Linked DNA regions of Homo sapiens: region 2 is linked to region 1. The links are contacts of gene promoters, found by promoter capture Hi-C in blood cells and fetal thymus (Javierre and others, 2016). All regions are on one chromosome and are shown on one strand. Each heading gives the region's core, a stretch centred on a gene start or on the middle of the fragment in contact. The rest is flanking DNA. Distances are from core to core; before and after follow the strand shown. Region 1 holds the start of LRRC74A (leucine rich repeat containing 74A). Region 2 overlaps LINC02288 (long intergenic non-protein coding RNA 2288).

Evidence for each region. Contacts are between HindIII fragments. The CHiCAGO score rates a contact against its expected background, and 5 or more counts as called.
Region 2: a contact is called between a fragment that was not itself captured here and the fragment with the promoter of LRRC74A in region 1, in 1 of 17 cell types (M2 macrophages). The highest score is 5.2, in M2 macrophages.

What each region holds. Positions count from the first base shown.
Region 1 is chr14:76,824,568-76,829,239 of GRCh38, reverse strand. LRRC74A (leucine rich repeat containing 74A) reads right to left here and starts at 2,832. Exons shown (of 14, transcript NM_001385106.1): 1 at 2,506-2,832; 2 at 821-949. The coding sequence starts at 2,542. RefSeq lists an enhancer at 221-908. The HindIII fragment of the contact is 9,425 bases long and covers 1-4,672 here.
Region 2 is chr14:77,052,769-77,057,440 of GRCh38, reverse strand. All of the region lies in intron 1 of LINC02288 (long intergenic non-protein coding RNA 2288), which reads right to left. Among named protein-coding and RNA genes, the nearest start is that of LINC02288, 14 kb to the right of the region's middle. RefSeq lists a silencer at 3,991-4,040 and an enhancer at 3,852-4,415. The HindIII fragment of the contact is 7,363 bases long and covers 1-4,672 here.

The DNA.
Region 1 (4,672 bases), core at 1,583-4,082:
CCCACCAGCCAGCTGCAAGGATGCAGGGGAGGAAGGGTGACTGGGCTAGGCTTGGCCTGGGAAGTTTGAGGCTGACCCTGTCAGATGGAACCAGCGTCATTCTCTTGCTTCACAAGTGTTCTCTTTCGGTGCTTCCCTTCTTGGGGAAACTGGGAGGAGAGAGAGGGTGGAGGTGTTATTTGCATTAACAGAGTCTTTGTTTCAGCTCAGCCAGTCCCGATACCCAGGCATGCTTAGATTTATCAAGAAAAGTAGGGGAAACCAGAGCTCTAAGGTGAGTGTGGGAAAGTCACTGGGATGCAAGATAGGCCACAGAAACACTCCAGGGGCCTGGGATATGGAATACAGAAGGCAGAACCATCAGAGTGAGTCAAACACGGGATCAGCCAACGTGCTGGGCAAACTCCCGCTGTCCCTGGGCAATGCCTATAATCTCTTTAAGGCCCAGTTCCTCTTCTGTTGAAAACTGGCAAAGATGCCTACCTCCTAGGACTATTGCAAAGATTGCATAGGATGCCCCACGTGGAAACATTTAGAAGATTAGAAAACCTTGTTTGTGTATTGATTCCGCTTTTAACAAGACGACGTGAGGGCACTGCTCCTGAGGCAGGTGACAAGCGTGGGAAGCTGCAGCTGCTCTCCCCTGCCAGCCCGGAGGAGGACTCCAGGCAAAATCGAGCAGGCCTTTCTGCCACATTTCCTCCACAGGCCATCCGCAGGGCAGACTCTGGAAAGGAGTGAGATGACAGCTCCTGGAAACCAGATTTCTCCAGTTTCTGAGGAGAAGCTGCCCTGACTGCCCCCAAATGCCCATGCTCGCCTTCAATCTCCAGGTCTGTTTCCGAATTCTCCCGGGCTGGTTTCACTTTTTCAACAGTCGGCGGGGATTCGGCCTCACAGTAGAGCATTTTATCGCTGCTCTGTCGTACTGGCTCAATTTCAATCTCATCTGGAAGAAAAAACTCATCTCCTTGATGCCAGGAATAAAACTTGCTGGCCTCCCAATAAAGCCTGCCGCTGCCGCCCCTCCATCTCTGCTCCCTTCCTCTGAGTCCCAGGTCCTCAAGGTGCCAAGCCCTGCCAGGGCAAGTCCACTCTACAAACCTCCCTTCCCCAATAGCGCTGCCTCCGGCTGCAGGGTCTACGGGAGCTTGTGAAACCAACTCCCTTCTGCTCCCTGGAGACCGGCTGCTCCTTCCCCCTTCCCTGTCTGAGGCGTGCCTTGGAGATCGGCTCCTTGCTCACACTTTCCCATTCTTAAGTGTTTGGGTGGGTTTTGGGGTGTGCTGTTACTCTTTCAGGTGAAAGGGTGGGTCCCGATACATAGGCTTCCTTATTGTCAGGCACAAATGGTGCCAGGGAGTATAAGGGGCAGGGCAGGGCAGGGGAGGTGACAACTTAGGTCAAATAGAAAATAAAATGGACCAGGAGCAGTTCCAGAGAGCAAGAGAGAGAACTTGATTCCTAAGAATTTGACTTAGCTTCTCTTCCTTCCAATCTAACATTGATTTGTGATTAGGAAGAAGGAGGGGCTTGAAAATCTCCCTTGGGTCGAAATGAATTACTATGATTAATTCATAGTAATGAATTAATCATATTCATTGCTGGGAACAGAGCTCCCCTCACACCAGTCCTCTGCACTTGCTAGATGTGGTTTTACCACCTCTGGGCCATTGACCTGGGATCAGCCATAGGCTCCTGAAAGCCATGGGCTTCTGGAAGCCACACATAAAATCCAGAGCTCAATCCTTAGGCACTGACAGGACTCAGTAGTTTCAAGAAGCCATGCCATGCCTCTGAATGACCTGTCAGAATTTAGCCAACCTACTCATTGGGTGGGCTGAGCATTTGTGGCAGGGGTCCCAAGTTTTGACCACCCAGATTCTAGGATGGTGGGGTTCCTAATGAGTCCATGCAGGTCTTTCTTAATCCTTGTCCATAGACCCAGGTTCCAACATTTATCTCCCAGACTGTCTGGGATACACAGTGCAGGTAGCAGTGGCCTGGTAGTTAGAAGACAGACAACAGCTTGGCTGTCAGACTGCTGAGTGCCCTTAGAAAAGTGATGAATTTCTGAGTGTTAATTTCCTTGTCAAACAATTTAGAATTCCATTCAACCAGTAGAATGCTGGTAAATTTTAACAATTGATTCTCCAGGAAAAAAAACAAACAACACCAAAAACATCCTGATTTATAGTGTTAGCCAATTCATGTGGTGTAAATATTCCCAATGTGACTGATTTCAAACTATAAATGTGGTATCAACTGGCCCACACAATAAAAATTAAAGCTGGCTAGAGCCAGTATGAGGTAGTTGTGGCATAGCACTGCAGCCAATTCTTCCTGTTTGCCAAGGCCTGAACCCAAGTCAGTATAACAAATCATCCTACTTCTAGAGGGTCCCAGGTGAGGAAAGAAGTGGGCTTCAGGGTCCTGTGATCACTAGGTGTTGTACTGAGGCAGCAGGGACGGGCCTGAGTGGTGAGAGATGGGATGCCCTTTCACCTTCTGTCTCAGGCTGAAGAGGCTTGTCATTGTCCATGGTGCCAGGACCCTCTTGAGGGCAGCTGCCAACTTCTTGCCACCTCTCGACTGCTTCCCTAAGAAGCACACCTGTCCATTCACCTCTGTCTCAAACTCTGTGAACTTCCCTCACCTGGGGGCATCCCAGGGGAGCCTGCAGTTATCCTTCCCTCCCAGCAAGCCCTGGGAAGAGTAGGCTTTGATGGGAATTGGATGTGCATGAATTTGACCCCAACTCTGTCTGGGAGAGGTAGCTACTTCTCCAGCTCATCTGGGAGAGTGGGACTGCTCTATTGCTGGGAGCCCTGTTGAAAGGATCCCCACCCGCCTGTGACTTTGTGACTCAGGAGCCACTTTCATTTCATCTTCAACATTCTGTGACCTCATGCAGTCATTGTGATTCACATGGTGGACCTGGCAACAGCAGGCTTCCCGCCCTCTGGGTGGTTCTGGCAGTCACCTGTTCTCATATGTCTACTGGGGCCAAGCCCAGGCTTGGCTGTGAGTGCTCAGGTGCTGTGGGGGGTTCCTCTCAGTGGTGTTGTATTTCCCTCTGAGTCAGGACCCAACCCAAGCCCCTTAATTAGGTGACTGTGAAGAGCTGCCATCATGTTCTTCTCGCAAGAGAGCTGTGCTTCAGGTATGAAGTATTTCAGTGACGGGTGAAGTCAGTTTTCTTCTGCCCAGCTCTTCTTCCTTTTTTCTTTTCCCCGTGGGAGAGCATCTTAACCTTGGAGCTGAAGATCAAAAGCACAGCGCAATGAACATATGTCCTATCACTACAGTTTGTTGCAGCCAAAGCATTGTTCAATCCAAACTATGGGGCTGCCTACCTTGAGACGGTTCAACTAGCATTCCCACACTCGGCCATTCTCACATGTGTTGGAGTTGAAGTCCAGTTGCAGTTTGGTTTCGGGAGAATCTGGAGGCACATTTGTTCTTTCTTGATAAGTTTTCAGGACATCAATGGTCAGGTCAGTGACTGGAGGGTTTGAGGATGTGAAAATTCCTTTTTTTTTTTTTTTTTTTTGCTACTCAGAATGAGGAAGATCTAGAAATGTGTGCAAGGAAAACATGATTAGAACCATGGATCAGAAGAAATATGTATACCTGAGATGTTACTTGTTCCTTCAAGCATTCATGCTGAGAAATACATATTGAGTCTCTATTACGTACGGGCGCTAAAATAGGCACCACTGTGGGGAAGGGATGCAGACATGATTAAGACAGGACCCTTTTAAGGCATGTGCAATGCATAATAGAAATTGACAGGGCCACCCTAGGGTGAGGGTCCTGGGCAAATATTTTTGGTAGAGTTCTTGCTTGTATAAACAATTTGAGTCACCCTAAATCGGCATGGCAGCACCATTCTGGTGGCCCAATCTCATGTGGTCCTTCTAAAGAAATACCAAACAGTCCAGGGAGAGTGATCAGCTCCTAGGATGATCAGGTAGACATGAGTCCTGGTGATCCTCAGGGCATCTGGCTGGCCCACACTATTGCAGAGGATAAGGAAGCATTAAGGGGGAGAAAGAGGGATCAGAGAGCATGTGTGTCCTGGTCTAGGGCTCTGGGTGCTCTACTTGGACGGCACCATCTGGTCTCAGGTACTGAAGGGTGAGTGAGAAAATCTAGAGGTAGGTGCTCCAACTAAGCCACTGGATAGAGGCACCACCAGCCTGGATCCAACAGCAGCAGGGAAACTGAGATGGGTCTTTGGGGAAATGCGCTGGGCGTTCAGGGGAGGGTGAGGTTTCTTCATATTGGGGAACTTGCTTGGGCTCTGGACAAGTAGAGTCTGGGGAAAAGGCATTTCCAGGAGGTCAGGATGAAGGAAGGCAGCAGCTCCCCGCATAGGAGTGCAGGCTGTGAAGACGAGTAGCAGAAGGGGAGGCCACCAGGGCCAGGGCAGCTTCAGGGAGAGATCCGAATGCAATTAAAAGGCAATAGGGAGACAATGAAGATTTTTGAACAGGAGAGTGACATCATCAGATATTTTCTTTAGAATGGTTGACAGCAATATTTTTTGCATAATAGTCAATTCTGGAAAAAATAAAAATGTTTAAGGACCATAATTTTTTTTAATTCTTTTTTTTTCTTTTTTTGAGATGGAGTCTCACTCTGTCGCCCAGGCTGGAGTGCAGTGGCG
Region 2 (4,672 bases), core at 946-3,445, 230 kb before region 1:
ATCCCAGCACTTTGGGAGGCCGAGGAGGGCGGATCACGAGGTCAGGAGATCAAGACCATCCTGGCTAACACGGTGAAACCCCGTCTCTACTAAAAATACAAAAATTAGCCGGGCGTGGTGGCATGCACCTGTAGTCCCAGCTGCTGGGGAGGCTAAGGCAGAAGAATGGCGTGAACCCGGGAGGCGGAGATTGCAGTGGGCAGAGATCGCGCCACTGCACTCCAGCCTGGGTGACAGAGCAAGACTCTGTCTCCAAAAAAAAAAAACAAGAATGAGGCAGACCTTCGTGTACTGAGAAAGGGCACAGAGTGCAAGAGGGCCATTCTCTGGGTCACAGAGGATCCTGCTTGCCTCACCCTGCTCCTGACCCTGCCAGGATATATGGATAGGTGAAAGAAGCAAGTCAAAGAACAACAAAGCCTGGGCAACATAGGGAGACCCCATCTCTACTAAATAAATAAATACATAAATAAGCCTGGTGCTATGGAGCACACCTGTGGTCTCAGCTACTCGGGCTGAGGCAGGAGGACTGTGTAAGCCCAGGAGATCGAAGCCGCAGTGAGCTGTCATCGTGCCACTGCGCTCCAGCCTGGGCAACAGAGTGAGACCCTGTCTCACAAAAAATTAAATTAAATTAAAAACAAAAATAAAGGCCGGGCATGGTGGCTCACGCCTGTAATCCCAGCACTTTGGGAGGCTGAGGGAGGTGGATCACCTGAGGTGGAGAGTTTGAGACCAGCCTGGCCAACATGGTAAAATCCTATCTCTACTAAAACTATAAAAATTAGCTGGGTGTGGTGGCGGGCACCTGTAATCCCAGCTACTCGGGAGGCTGAGGCAGGAAAATCACTTGAACCCAGGAGGCGGATGTTGCAGTGAGCCAAGATCGTGCCACTGCACTCCAGCCTAGGTGATAAAGCAAGATTCTGTCTCAAAAAAACAAAACAAACAAATAAAAACATCATTGCCATTGCTATATTGGATTGGGCAAAGGATGGGAGAAGAGGGAGCCAGAGCAAGGAGTGCTTGTGATGGAGCAGCCAGGCTGCAAAACATCATTGCCATTGAATCTGGGCTGATCTGGTGTCTTGCTTGGGGCAGTAGAAGTGGTGGAAGTGACACTGTCCCAACTTCAGGGCTAGTCCCTAAGTCTGGCAGCTTCTGCTTTCATTCCCTTGGATGAAATATAATTCCCAGCTGCCATGTAATTAATCCAGTTGACCTGAAACCACCATGCTGACCACGTGGAGAGGCCATGCAGAGGAGCGCTGAGGTGCCAGGCCTGTAAGTGACGCCTTCTTGGCCCTTCCCTCCCAGTCCAGCTGCCAGCTGAATGCAGCTGAGTGACCCCAGCTGACACCACATGGAGCAGAAGAACCACCCAGCCAAGCCCTGCCCAAATTCCTGACTCACAAAATCATGAGAAATAATAAATTGCTGTTTTAAGCCACTAATTTTTATTTACTTTTTCCTTTTTTATTTTTTATTTATTTATTTTTTTTTGAGATGGAGTCTTGCTCTGTCTTCCAGGCTAGAGTGCAGTGGCGCAATCTTGGCTCACTGCAACCTCCACTTCCCAGGTTCAAGTGATTTTCCTACCTCAGCCCCAAGAAGCTGGGACTAGAGGCCCTGCCACCACATCTGGCTAATTTTTGTATTTTTAGTAGAGATGGGGTTTCACCATATTAGCCAGGCTGGTCTTGAACTCCTGACCTCAGGTGATCCGCCCGCCTCGGCCTCCCAAAGTGCTGGGATTGTAGGCGTGAGCCACTGTGCCTGGCCTTAAGCCACTAATTTTTGAAAGTCAATTGTTATGATCTTGTTCTGATACACACAAGATCAGGAAGCGTGACAGGCCTCAATTTCCTGATCTGTAAAATGAGAGTTAAATGAGATCATGCATCTAAAACCCCATGCCTGGGGCCTGGCACCTTGCCTGTGCTTCACTGAGAATCTATGATTCTCAGCCAAACAATGCCACGATTCTGTACCCATGCTCTGCCCTGACTGAGTGATGGCCACGCAGACCGTGTTGTTCCAGGTCCTCAGATGAACAGCCATCATTCTCCTCTAATGGAAATGGCCTGTCACCATGGCAGCACCCTGGCTAAGAGCAGTGGCTTCTAAACCAGATAAGCATGGATGTAAGCCCTTCTCTGTCGGTTTCTAGCTTTGTGACCTTAGGCAAGTTATTGACTGTCTCTGAGTCTTGGTTTCTTCACCTGAAAAGAGAAGAAGTCAGCCAACCTCCCTCTCCAGGAAATCTACCCTGATTAGCCTCTCCCCACCATATTTCTCTAAATAGAGCTTTGTCATGGCTTGTTTACAAGACAGGTATTAGTTTCAAAACTTTAAGAAAAGGGATGAAATTAACTATATTGGTTGGAAAAGGGGATTGGGGGACCCCTGACCATAATTTATTAATAATAGAGCCCAACACCTCCTGCCTCTTCCCATCGCCTCTCTCCTTGTTCCCACTAGGACAGCCTCTCTGACCATGCTTCAGTATCTTTGAGTTTGCCATTTCTTCTGCCTGGAACCCTCTTCTACCAAATAGCTTCATAGCTCACTCTCTCATCTCCTTTTGGTCTTTATTTAAATGTTACTTTTTCAATGAGACGTTCCCTGACCACCCCATTTAAAATCCCCCACTCATTTTGGGGCACCCTCTTTTTTGCTTTAGTTTTCTCCATAACACATATTACCCTCAAACATCATGTTTATGTTACTTGCTTATTTACTTTTCTATCCCAGACTCCCCCCTGCCCCCCCCACACAAATGTATGCTCCAGTGGGGCAGGATTTTGTGTTTGTGTTTGTCTATTTTGTTTACTAATATTGCCCTAGTACCTGGCTATAGCTCAAAGTTTGCTATATGAGTGTGTACAAAAGCACACGCACCCATACATATCCTGAGCGTGGGGTGAAACTGTGGACATCTTGAAAGAATAAGCTGGACCCGACTTGGGTTGTGTGTTGATAGGGGTGTTAAAGCATTCCTCCAGCATCAACTGGCTTCCAATCCTCACCTTTGCTGTGTGTGTGTGTGTGTGTGTGTGTGTGTGTGTGTGTGTGTGTGTAATGAAGGCCATGGGGAGTAGAAAATTGGATGTTAATAAAAAGTCATCAAGAACATATTTCCTATCCTCTTCTAGCCCTTAAAGCCCTACCAACCATGAAGGATTTGCCCAGTGGTCTGGGGGAGAACAGGAATCCGGGCAGGCGATGGTTCCTACCAGGTTGGCACTGAGGCTAACCAGTCCAATTAATTTAAGGAGAAATACCCATGTGTCACCTGGAGAGAAAGTTGCAGGGTAACTGCACGATCCTCCCACATCCACTCTGATGACCTCTCATTAGAGGTTAGGGCTCTATCATTGCCCTGGAGCAGAATGGCTTGGGGCGGGGGTCTTCCGGGGTTCCTGGTAGATGGAGAGCCTGGGGAGATTGGCATGACAGGGTCCCTTCAGAATGAACCAAATGAATGACAGCCCAGGCTCAAAGGGATGAGGTTTCCTTTGAGAAGAGATGGCTGTTGGTGGTGACTGTTAGTTCCTACTAATGACAGCGACCTTGAAATCCATACCCAGGGTCTCTACCCTCTGGTTTGAGGGGAAGGAGTAGAGAAGTCTTCCATGCTACAGATGAGAACCTGAAGCTCTGAGGGATTATGTTCTCTGTCTAAGATTACCGCAAGTCCACGATGCCAGGACCTTTGTTCATTGCTATATCCCGATGCAGAACCATTTCTGTTGAATGAATGAACATTCAAGCAGATATTGATAGTCTCTGGGCTTGAACCCATGCGTGGTCGACACCAAAACTAGTTGGCTCCAAAAACCTAGCTTATCTTTCACTCATTTTGCATCCCTCCCAAAGCCTGGCGGGGTACCTGACACCTGGGGGGTGATCTGTGAATATTGGGTCAATTGACCCGGCAGCAGCAGGTGGTGCTAACACGAACCACCTGAAGACCCCCAGCGGACAGGCGGGACCTCTGCTCGCAGCCAGCAGGGGGCGCGCACACATTGTTTTCCAGTGGGCTCACCTCCCCAGGCCCCCTTTGCAATCCTGTCCCGACGAGTGGTGTATTAGACAGAAAGGGCCCTCCCTCAACCAGCCTGTTTTATGTCAGGAGGCTTCAAATTATGCGGTCTTCCCCAGCAGGCAGCCCTCTGGGACGTGTGGCTCCTACACCAGGCGCTGTGCTAGGCCCTTGACACGCATTATCTCATTTCATCATCTGAGGTACTGATATCAATTTTACAAATGAGACTACTAAAGTGCTATTTTTACCCATTTTACAAATGAGAATACTGAGGCTTGGGGTTGTTCAGGGACTCGTACCCCTCTACCCTTGAGGCCTCGCCTCTTTGGGGTGGTGGGACCCTAACAAGTCCTGGCAGAGGCCTGAGCTTCTGGAGAGGGCCAGATGGGAAAGACCACTTCTCAGAAGAGGAATGGCTCCTGCCCGGGTTCTTCTCCAGTTCCTGCCTCCTCATGGTTTGTCACTGTTTCCCAGAGCTCTGGGCAGACACCTTGGGCAGGCCTGCCAGCTCCATGCTGTGCCACAGGGCAGCCAGGGACACTCCCTCCTGGTGTCAATTCCAGACACCTGGCACACACTGGGGAGTGTCCTGGGTGGTGTTGGTGGTGGTGGGAGGAGAGAAGG